Regions from separate parts of the Homo sapiens genome. Here regions 2 and 3 are each linked to region 1. The links are contacts of gene promoters, found by promoter capture Hi-C in blood cells and fetal thymus (Javierre and others, 2016). All regions are on one chromosome and are shown on one strand. Each heading gives the region's core, a stretch centred on a gene start or on the middle of the fragment in contact. The rest is flanking DNA. Distances are from core to core; before and after follow the strand shown.

Evidence for each region. The method cuts DNA at HindIII sites, captures the fragments that hold promoters and counts their contacts. A CHiCAGO score of 5 or more calls a contact.
Region 2: a contact is called between a fragment that was not itself captured here and the fragment with the promoter of ELMO3 in region 1, in 15 of 17 cell types (M1 macrophages, M0 macrophages, erythroblasts and 12 more). The highest score is 11.8, in M1 macrophages.
Region 3: a fragment that was not itself captured here is called in contact with the fragment with the promoter of ELMO3 in region 1 in 1 of 17 cell types (M1 macrophages); the score reaches 5.0 in M1 macrophages.

Annotation. Positions count from the first base shown.
Region 1 is chr16:67,197,767-67,201,181 of GRCh38, forward strand. It overlaps ELMO3 (engulfment and cell motility 3), which reads left to right and starts at 1,365. Exons shown (of 20, transcript NM_024712.5): 1 at 1,365-1,638; 2 at 1,787-1,827; 3 at 1,918-1,990; 4 at 2,185-2,235; 5 at 2,426-2,595; 6 at 2,685-2,784; 7 at 2,891-3,042; 8 at 3,124-3,202. The coding sequence starts at 1,561. E2F4 (E2F transcription factor 4) reads left to right here. Exons shown (of 10, transcript NM_001950.4): 9 at 101-145; 10 at 242-1,152. The coding sequence ends at 357. RefSeq lists a silencer at 701-760. The HindIII fragment of the contact is 7,654 bases long and covers 1-3,415 here.
Region 2 is chr16:66,936,998-66,940,406 of GRCh38, forward strand. CES2 (carboxylesterase 2) reads left to right here. Exons shown (of 12, transcript NM_001365405.1): 2 at 1,040-1,244; 3 at 2,220-2,361; 4 at 3,225-3,358. Among named protein-coding and RNA genes, the nearest start is that of CES2, 3.2 kb to the left of the region's middle. The HindIII fragment of the contact is 939 bases long and covers 1,531-2,469 here.
Region 3 is chr16:66,902,145-66,905,852 of GRCh38, forward strand. LOC107984821 (a long non-coding RNA gene) reads right to left here and starts at 3,116. Exons shown (of 3, transcript XR_001752244.2): 1 at 2,947-3,116. RefSeq lists an enhancer at 1,029-3,513. The HindIII fragment of the contact is 9,071 bases long and covers 1-3,708 here.

The sequences.
Region 1 (3,415 bases), core at 115-2,614:
GTGAAGTTCCTGATGGGCAGGTGGGGTTCCCTTTCCTGGGCTTTGGTGGGTGGAGAGGTGGGAGCTGGAATGTTAGTAACTGAGCTCCCTCCATTCCCAGAGTGCATGAGCTCGGAGCTGCTGGAGGAGTTGATGTCCTCAGAAGGTGGGTGGCCCTGGAAGGTGGGAGTGGGTGTGGGCAGGGGTTGGGCTGCTGCTAGGGGAGCCCTGGCCCAGGGCCTGAGACTAGTGCTCTCTGCAGTGTTTGCCCCTCTGCTTCGTCTTTCTCCACCCCCGGGAGACCACGATTATATCTACAACCTGGACGAGAGTGAAGGTGTCTGTGACCTCTTTGATGTGCCTGTTCTCAACCTCTGACTGACAGGGACATGCCCTGTGTGGCTGGGACCCAGACTGTCTGACCTGGGGGTTGCCTGGGGACCTCTCCCACCCGACCCCTACAGAGCTTGAGAGCCACAGACGCCTGGCTTCTCCGGCCTCCCCTCACCGCACAGTTCTGGCCACAGCTCCCGCTCCTGTGCTGGCACTTCTGTGCTCGCAGAGCAGGGGAACAGGACTCAGCCCCCATCACCGTGGAGCCAAAGTGTTTGCTTCTCCCTTTCTGCGGCCTTCGCCAGCCCAGGCTCGGCTGCCACCCAGTGGCACAGAACCGAGGAGCTGCCATTACCCCCCATAGGGGGCAGTGTCTTGTTCCTGCCAGCCTCAGTGTCTTGCTTCTGCCAGCTCCTTCCCCTAGGAGGGAAGGGTGGGGTGGAACTGGGCACATGCCAGCACCACTTCTAGCTTCCTTCGCTATCCCCCACCCCCTGACCCTCCAGCTCCTCCTGGCCCTCTCACGTGCCCACTTCTGCTGGGCCTTTAGCCCTAGAACCTGCAGGTGGTGGGGGCGGCTACCAAGAAGGAACAGAGGTCTCTGGGGAGGAGTCTGGGTGGTCCAGCCCTGATGATTGGCCCCACCTCCTGCTGCCCCATAACCCTCTCTTCATTTCGGCTTTTTCATTTACCCTCATTTAGAGCCATTTGCAGAGATTTAGAAAGATTTACAGTAACGAATGGATTCCTATATAAAGATTATTTTTATACTTTTTGCAGCAAAAGGAAATTGTAATATTTGTACAGTGTTCAAGTGAATAAAAACCATGCCTAAGGCTAGCTCTGATGTGGTTCTTTGGGGACCCTCCTTGGGACTGTGCTGGACTGGCAGTGTGATTGGGTGGGTCACCTTGCTGGAACTAGGGGTGGGGCGGCCTCCGGCAGCCTGCCCTCCCCGCCCCCACCTGCCGCACCTTGGTGTGGGGCGGGGCCGCCTCGGCGGGGCGGGGCAGGCGGAGCCGTCCTACCTTCCTACCCCCAGACTCCAACCCGGAACTAACCTCGGCTCCCTTGGGAAGGCCGCGTTGCATGGCCAGGAGCAGCAGTCTGGGCCGCGAGTGCGGGACACCGAGGTCAGGTCTCGGAAAGGGAGGACCTCCTCGTCCCCAGGGGCCCCAGGCCAGGTGCACCCTTGGCCGCAGGTGCACGGTCTCCGGAAAGTGCAGGCGCCCACGTCCCAGCTGGACCATGGCGCCTCCGCGGAACGTGGTGAAGATTGCCATCAAGATGCGTGACGCCATCCCGCAGCTCATCCAGCTGGACCAGGTCACCCGGCTGGTCCCGCCTCCATCTGCCCCACTGCCCCACCTCCCGGTAGCCCCCTGGCCCTCGGGGCAGCCCGCCCCACCCCTCCCCCCAGGCTCCTCCCCATCCCTCCCTGCCCAGGCCGCGAGAATGACCACTCCACTTGCAGGCGAAGCCCCTGGCCGCTGTGCTGAAGGAGGTGTGCGACGCGTGAGTGCTGCCGGGCCAGGGCCTGCGGAGGGCGGGAGGGCAGGAGGGGCGGCGCCCCCTGCCGGCCTCGCTGAGCCTCGTGCCCCTCAGGTGGAGCCTGACGCACTCTGAGCGTTACGCCCTGCAGTTTGCGGATGGGCACCGGAGATACATCACCGAGAATGTGAGTCCCCTCTCCCCAGCCCCAAGCTCGGCCTTCCGACCCCTCTAACCCACCTGGCCCCGATAACTCTGGCTCTTCATCCCACTACCGGAGCGCGATCTGTTATTCACCCCCAGCCGCCCTCACCGACACCCCAGTTGATCAGTCCTCGGAGCCCTCCCTGACCTCGCTGCCTTTTCTGCTGTCTTCTCCAGAACCGCGCGGAGATCAAGAATGGCAGCATCCTGTGCCTCAGCACGGCCCCAGTAATGCCCCTCCCGTCCCGCCTTCCCCATCCCTGCCCCTTTGCTCCAGGTCCAGAGGCCCCCCGCCCCGGAGGCCCCCGCCCCAGCCCTGCCTTGCGCCACCTAGTTGACGCCCGGGGCCGCACACTTCCAGGTCCCACCCTTACCATGCCCAGCCTCTTCACCTCTGCTCCTGCTCCGTTCCTGCCAGGACCTTGAGGCTGAGCAGCTCTTGGGTGGGCTGCAGAGTAACAGTCCTGAAGGGCGCCGGGAAGCCCTGAGGCGCCTTGTTCCGCTGGCCTCGGACATGATCTTTGCCAGGGAGGTCATCAGCCGTAATGGGCTCCAGATACTAGGCACCATCATTGAAGATGGGGACGAGTGAGCACAGGGATGTGTGGGCTGGGGGAGATGGTGGGTCTTTCTGGTCCTGGGGTGGTCCTGCTCAGCCCCAGATGTCCCCCCTCCAGCCTAGGAGAGGTGCTGGCCCTCAGCCTGAGGGCCTTCTCAGAGCTCATGGAGCACGGCGTGGTGTCCTGGGAGACTCTGAGCATCCCCTTTGTGAGGAAGGTGGGTGGGCTTTCCTAGGGCAGCGGGTGGGGGCAGTGGAGCAGTGGGGCAGTGGTAGACCCGGTCTTCCATGGGGGTGAGGTGGTGACACCCCCGCCCCTTACAGGTGGTGTGCTACGTGAACATGAACCTCATGGATGCCTCCGTGCCTCCCCTGGCCCTTGGGCTGCTGGAGAGTGTGACCTTGAGCAGCCCAGCCCTGGGCCAGCTGGTCAAGAGCGAGGTGCCCCTGGATAGGCTGCTGGTGCACCTACAGGTGTAAGCCTCTGGGGCTGGGGTCCAGATGCAGGGAGCAGGGCTGGAGCCTGAATGTTCCACTGAGCCCTCTTCTTGCCATAGGATGAACCAGCAGCTGCAAACCAAGGCCATGGCCCTGCTGACAGCCTTGCTGCAGGGGGCCAGCCCTGTGGAACGCAAGGTGAGTGTCGATCGGTGGCTAGATGGGGGCAGCACCCGGTGGGCGCTGCCCCACCCTGAAGCAAAATCCTCTAAGCCCCCCTTTTTTTTTTTTTTGAGATGGAGTCTTGCTCTGTCGCCCAGGCTGGAGTGCAGTGGTGCGATCTTGGCTCACTGCAAGCTCTGCCTCCCGGGTTCACACCATTCTCCTGCCTCAGCCTCCCGAGTAGCTGGG
Region 2 (3,409 bases), core at 750-3,249, 260 kb before region 1:
AAGACTTGTCTCTACCAAAAAAAAAAAAAAAAAAAGTCAAGCATGGTGGCAGACAGCTGTACTCCAAGCTACTCAGGAGGCTGTGGCGGGAGGATCTCAAGCCCAGGAGGTGGAGGCTGCAGTGAGCTGTTATCATATTACTGCATTCCAGCCTGGGCAACAGATGGCGACCTTGTCTGACAAATATATATGTATACAAAATTTTGGGTTGGACCCACATTCAGAAAAAATAATTGACAAGCCATAGGAGGGTACAGGTGATGTGTGCCATCCTCTTTTTACCCAACCAGTCCTGGCTTCTCCTCAGGGGCCATCAAAGTCCCCATGGCCCACACTGGAAACTGCTTGTTGACACCGCAGTACACACAGTGCCCAGCAGTTTACACAAGAATAGATGTGTGCACTTGTCCTTGATTTTCATCTAAACAGTCATAAACTCACCCACTTTCTGGAGCCAGGCTTTTCTACAGCTGGGACTACAGGCATGCACCACCACACCCCGCCAATTTATTTCCTGATTTTTTTGCAGAGACAGAGTCCCACTATGGTCCCCAGGCCAGTCACTGTGCTTTTTATATCCCAGCCACAGCCATACTTTTCTCTTGCACCTCTTTTCACCAACATCACTCATGGTTTGGATGATGCTTTCTTTACATGATTTCTTGCCACTTTGGACATGACATCCCTGAGGACAAGAAACTTGCCTGCCCAATTCCCACCATCATCCTACTGTCACATGACCTGGCACACAGTTGAAGGACACTCTAGTCCCATCAAGGGCATGTGACCCTTTGTTTGAAGGTCCTAGGGCTGAATGATGATGCCTGGCCCCAAGGAGCCTCAGCCTGGTGGGATGGAGACAGGCCCAGGAAGCCAGAGCGGGAAGGGAGTGTTACAGGCAGGAAGTTTGTAAAGCCCATGTTTACAGATCAGAGTCCCTTGAGCTAAGATGAGGATGGCAAGGAAGCAGCAATACCAACAGTTGGGAGGGCAGTCGATTGGTCAAACCCAACCGTGATGTCTGTCTCTCTGCCCACAGGCCAGGACTCAGCCAGTCCCATCCGGACCACACACACGGGGCAGGTGCTGGGGAGTCTTGTCCATGTGAAGGGCGCCAATGCCGGGGTCCAAACCTTCCTGGGAATTCCATTTGCCAAGCCACCTCTAGGTCCGCTGCGATTTGCACCCCCTGAGCCCCCTGAATCTTGGAGTGGTGTGAGGGATGGAACCACCCATCCGGCCATGTAAGCTCTCCAAGGGGTCCAGGGAACTCCAGGCCCTGGGGCAGGGGTGGGGGTGCTCTGAGCTCAGCTAGGCTGCAGTTATCATTTCATCTAAACCCCCACAGCCAGTTTTCCTTCTGAGTTTCGTGGATTCCCACGTGCATTTTTCCAATGAGCATGCTGAGGCTCAGGAGGGCAGAATAACTTCTCAGACTCCTGGATCAGGGCTTGGCATTCAGAAGACATTGGCTCCAGGTGCCGAAGGGAGGGGCAGACACACGTATCTCCCCAGATTCTGGTTATGCCAAGCTTTCTCTGCCACCAGTGGCAGGTGTCTCTGGGAAAGGTTCGGGTTGGCTCTATGAACCTTGTAGGAGCCCCTAACTCTAGTGGCAGATGTTGCAAATACCTGAAGAGAACAGTAGTGGTAGCTTTCTGGGGACCTGCACTCTCCACAGGCACTGTGTCCACTGACAGGACCAGGAGCCATTGGCCAAGAGACATGTATATGTATATGTATATGTTTCCAACTGGAGGCCATGTAGGAATGATGAGTTTTTGAGAGTTTAGACTTGGGATGAGAGACATCCCACTGCCCTTCTCATGAGAAATTAACATCCATTCACTCATGTAGCACACATATGTGGGCTACTCCCCTGTCCCAGGCCTTACGGGTTACAGGAATATAGTGGTGAATGTCAACACATGCAGCCAATGGTTCTCATAGAAACCCCTAAGAGTCAAGGTTTCCGGCAGTGCGAGGAATGATACCCAAGGTCCTCAGTAACCTCGAGGCCTCCCTGGAAGTCCAAGCTGCATCCCAGCTTCCCCAGAGCCTGTGGCCTGTAACTTGGTGGGAAGGGATTTTTGAGAGGGATCATGTGTGAGCAGGATATTGTGGGAAGGGTCTGAGGGTGGCTGGGAGCACCTCTGAACCCAGGGTCTGGTTTTGGCCACAGCCTGGCCCCTGGACTGATTATTTGCCCTGGTTACCAGGTGTCTACAGGACCTCACCGCAGTGGAGTCAGAGTTTCTTAGCCAGTTCAACATGACCTTCCCTTCCGACTCCATGTCTGAGGACTGCCTGTACCTCAGCATCTACACGCCGGCCCATAGCCATGAAGGCTCTAACCTGCCGGTGGGTGTCAGGCCACAGTTCACTGGGGGTTGGAGGACAGTTCTTCTGCAAGAAGCTGAAAAGGACAATATTAGCTCAGGCCCTGCTTCAGAGTGGACCATGCTGAGAAGCTTCTCACTGTCAGGTCCAAGAAATGCTCCTTACCCAGACTGGGCAGCTGGCCCCTGGACATGGGGTCACAGAGTTCTGGCTGCTCCCAGAGGTCAAAGGCTGTGGCTCTGGGCTGGACCCAGGACTCACTCAGCCAACTCATGCCAGGAGATCCACTTAAGTGCCAAAGGGCTGCACCTTGAGGTGACCAAGAACCCCAGCCATGGATAATCTGTTGGGCCTATAGAATGGGCACACACAAAAACTTTTTTTCTTAGAGATGGCATCATGCTCTGTTGCCCAGGCTAAAATGCAGTGGCATGAACATACCTCTCTGTAACCTCGAAATCCGGGATGATCCTCTCAGATTAGCCTCCCGAGTAGCTGGGACTACTGGCCTATTCCACCATGCCTGGCTCATTTTTAAAACATTTTCTGTTGAAACGGGGTCTCACTATGTGGTTCAGGCTAAGGACATTTTTGGTTAATGTTCATGTGGAGCCATCAGGGAGACACCCCTTTTCTTTCCACTTTGGTGAATTATCTGGGGTTAATGAACCCAGGCTTTGATACAGGGGGTTCGATTGCAAAGATTGGGAGGCCTGGTCTTCCTGATAGATCTTGGGTGCCTAACCATTTGCCCATGTAATGAATTTGTGCTGGAGATCTAATGGGGAGGTAGACAGAGGCAAAGCACTGGTTGGTCTAGGTAGTGGCCCTGGTGGGGTTTGGGCTGGGTGGGAGCATCATGGTAGCTGCCTTGATTTCCCCAGGTGATGGTGTGGATCCACGGTGGTGCGCTTGTTTTTGGCATGGCTTCCTTGTATGATGGTTCCATGCTGGCTGCCTTGGAGAACGTGGTGGTGGTCATCATCCAGTACCGCCTGGGTGTCCTGGGCTTCTTCAGGTGAGACTAGGGCTGGGCTGGGCAACCCGGGCTGAGCGGGGCCAGGACAGC
Region 3 (3,708 bases), core at 721-3,220, 300 kb before region 1:
CCAGAGTCCCAGAGCATCTACATTTGTCCTTAGGATCCATTGCCACGCCTTATGCAGTGGCAATGCCACTTTCTCACATCTAGCTGTGGACCAAGCCCATTTCCTCAGGTTCCAGTCAGAGGGCTCTAGAACCCAGGTACAGTGGCCAGCCAGGGATCTAGCATCTAGAACTGGACATTCAGAATTGGGGGCCTGGAATCCTATGGGGCAGTGGCTGATGGCATTTGAAGAAATCACAGAAGCTGTGGGCACAACTACATCCACTCTGAAAGGTCAAGTGCCATCTCGAGGGTCAACCCCAAAAGCCTTATATAGAAGGGGGGATTCCTGTATGGAGTGGAGCACAGAGACATAGAGGGCACCCCAGCAGACTGAGAGGGGCTGCTTTCTGCTGAAACTAGGCGTGTACACATGTATGGGGATGGGGTGGGAAGGGTCATGTCCCGAACCCAGTAACATAAAATAAATGCATAGAAAAAAGACTGGAAAGAAATCTGGTAAAAACATAACTATAACAACAAAACCAAGAATGACTGCAGCTGTAATGACAATAATAACAGAAGCTGTTCCATTTTTTGAGAGCCAATTATGTGCCAGCCTCTGTGCTAAGTAAGGGCTTTGCTTGTATTATCTCAGTTAATCCCCACAGCATGCTCTTCTCTGGGTGGGGGTGGGTGGGCAGTGGCCTGTGGGGTGTGCTCTGTAAATGTGGTTGTTTTCTGCCAGGTCTGCAGCTTCCGCAGAGGTAGACAGAGGAGCCCTTAGGCCCCATCTATAGGAGATGTCGTGCTCTCCTTGCCAGCAATGCAGGGTGTGAGATGGGATGGCCAGCCCCCTTGGGGATGCCTTCGGGGAGCCAGCCAGGCCCACTGAGCTAACCTCAGCCCCCACTTGGCCCTACTCCTCTAGGCGTTGGGGCTCAAAATAGCAGCTGCTCGAGAGCTGACAATCAAAGGCCAGCTAAAAAAAGGCCCCTCAGTCTGGGCTCTGTCGCACACGGCTCGTAGAGCCTATTTTAGGGGAGAGGGTGCCGACATGCCAGTGGAAAATCCATAGGGCGGGAGTCTCCCAAAGTGGGAGACCCATATGCCTCCCTCTCCCCACTCTGGCCCCCCCACCCAAGTGCTCACGTGCACACACACTCACATTTTGCAGCCGTCAGCCTGCTTCCTGACCACTGGACCCTGTCATCTCCACCACAGCCCAGGAGAGGGATGAGGAAATTGAGGCTCAGAGATGGGAATTGACTTGCCCAAGATCACGAGGCTGGGAAGTAGGCAGGACAGCCACCAGATGGGGCCACTGTGGCTCACAGTTCAGTGCTCTCCCGTGGAAGAAGCCACATCACTGAGGAAGCCAATACATTGTTCTCTGGAGTGCCCAAAGCTCAGAGATGGGGCCAACGGTGGGGTGTTCTGGGTTGGACTGAGGGTGAGTAGGAGCTGAGGGTGACCTGTGGTCTTAGTCTCCGCATGGGAAGAAATCTCACTAGAACCCCCCAGGCCAATTCTGAGGGGACCTTGCCTGGCTGTGGGAGAGGCAGCTGGAGCGGGTCCTCATCGGCACTGAGCCCAGCCCAGCCCCCTCATCCTATCCCTGTGACCACCTCACGCCCTGCCCCGCCCAGGCCCCCAGAGGCTGGCAGGCCCTGCCAAGTTTCCAGGGAATGTGTCAGATAAAGGGCTGGTGCTCATGACTCTCTCCCACGTAGCAGCTATCTCTGACCCTACTGCCACTACCACTGCCACCGCCACTGGGAGGTGGATAAGAATAGCAACAGCCCCAGTGAGTGGGCACCCACAGGGACACAAACCATGTCTTTAGGTGTCCAGCCTCAGCCTCAGACTGAGGATGAGTCTCCAGGTTCCCCTTTCCATCAGTTCCAGCCCCACCTAGCTCCCCCATCATCCTGGGCCCAAAATCCTACCACATCTTAGGGTAAAACTCCAAGCCTCATCCCTTGTGGCTGCTGCCTCAGCAGGGGGAATCTGGAGGGGATGCCATCGCCACATTGATCCTGAGCTGGGGCCTGAGCCCTGCCCTTCACTGGGGAGCTGTATGACATGGAGCTGGACATTGTCCCTCTCAGGGCCCACAAGCAGGGCAAGGTGGCACAGCAGCCCCTGGAGAATGAGATAGCCAGCCGAGGCCTCTCCAGGGGCTGGGTACCCCGTTGTCCTGGTGACCACAGTCTAGTCTGGCTTCTGAGTGCCCCTGTGAATTCTGGCTTTCTGGTCAGTGGGGATGTGAAGACAGTGAGGGTCCTCATGTCTCACAGATAGGGGTCACTGGGATACGACCACTGGGTGGTGTTGGGGGGGCCCTGCATGAGTCCTGTGACACTCCTGTGAGGGTGTGAGGGTAGCTGCGTGACTACAAGGTAAGAGGCTGTTGTCATGGAACCCATGGTGAGCGTAGTTGTGACACCGGAATCGGGAGATCCAGGGAGCCTCATCTCCAACTGTGACACATGGGGGTGATGGAGGGAGCCGAGTCCCAGTCCCCACATCAGTGACTCCTGCAGCTCTCACAGCCTGACTCATTGCATGGCCCCGGACCTGGTACCCCCAGCCTCCTCGCCCCCGGCTCTGGCGCCTTTCTCTCCTCGCGTCCTCCCTGTTCTCAGGCGACTCTTCCTCTTTTGTACCCCCCCCATGTCACCCACCTACCAAAGGGGTCCCAGGGAGGAGGTCAGGGATGCTAGGGAAGAACGAGGAAGGGTGGGCCGAGGCAAGCTCCTCGCACACTCACACATTCCGATGCGTGCATCACACAGACCAGACTGCAGCATATACTTATACACCCACAGACACACGTGTGCACACACGCCTGGTAGAGTGACTGGGCCACTAAGAAGCCTCCCAAGCTCAGTCTTCCAACATCAGCCCTGTCTGGTAGGCCCCCACCACCCCTTAAGTCAGGGTCCCATGCCGCTGAGGCCCTCACATTAGAAACGCATCCTCCCGCCGCAGCAGTGTGTCTGGAGGTGACACCCTAGGAAGAACTTCTGCCCCGAGGCCCCAGCTAGAGTCCTGGGTGGGTGTAGGTAGATGTGGGTGGGGTGGGGTCTCTGAGGGCCCGAGACTGTTGCTTTCTTTGTGGGTGAGGGCCAGACTGACCTCTGGGCCTCCGGCTTCAAGAGCCCTAATCGCTGGGGCTGGAAAAAGTTTAAAAATATCCTCATGTTTACATTCTTTCCAAGCTGCCTCCTGATCCTCCGTGCTGGGTCCCTTTGATCTGGCCCAGTGCCTCTGGAAGGGGCCTGGGAGAAGGGGAGCATGAGGCCTCTGCTGGGGCCCACCCCTCAACCCCCTCCAGCTCCAGCCCAGAACCCTGTGAGACCCTGGACATCACAGACCCTAAGAGCACCTGGGCACTGGAAGGGAGCTGGGGCTGGAAGGGGTGTCTTGCACTCTTGCTTTGGGGCTGGAGCTGGGGCCCCTCTCCAAACTCCCTCCCAAAAGCCTGGGCCTCTTGGGACCTCTAGGGAGTGTGTGTAAGTGCGGGGATGTAGGTCCCTCAACAATCCATGCACTGGGGAAAGTCACATTTACTGAGCCCTGCAGTGCCTGGCACTGTGCTAAATGCATTGTGCAGGGATTATCTCATGTAGTTTTCCTAACGACAAAAACTTGTATCACCAAGTAAGCCAAGGCTCTGAGAGGTGAAGCAGTTTTCCTGGGAACACATCGCATGGATAAGCACAAC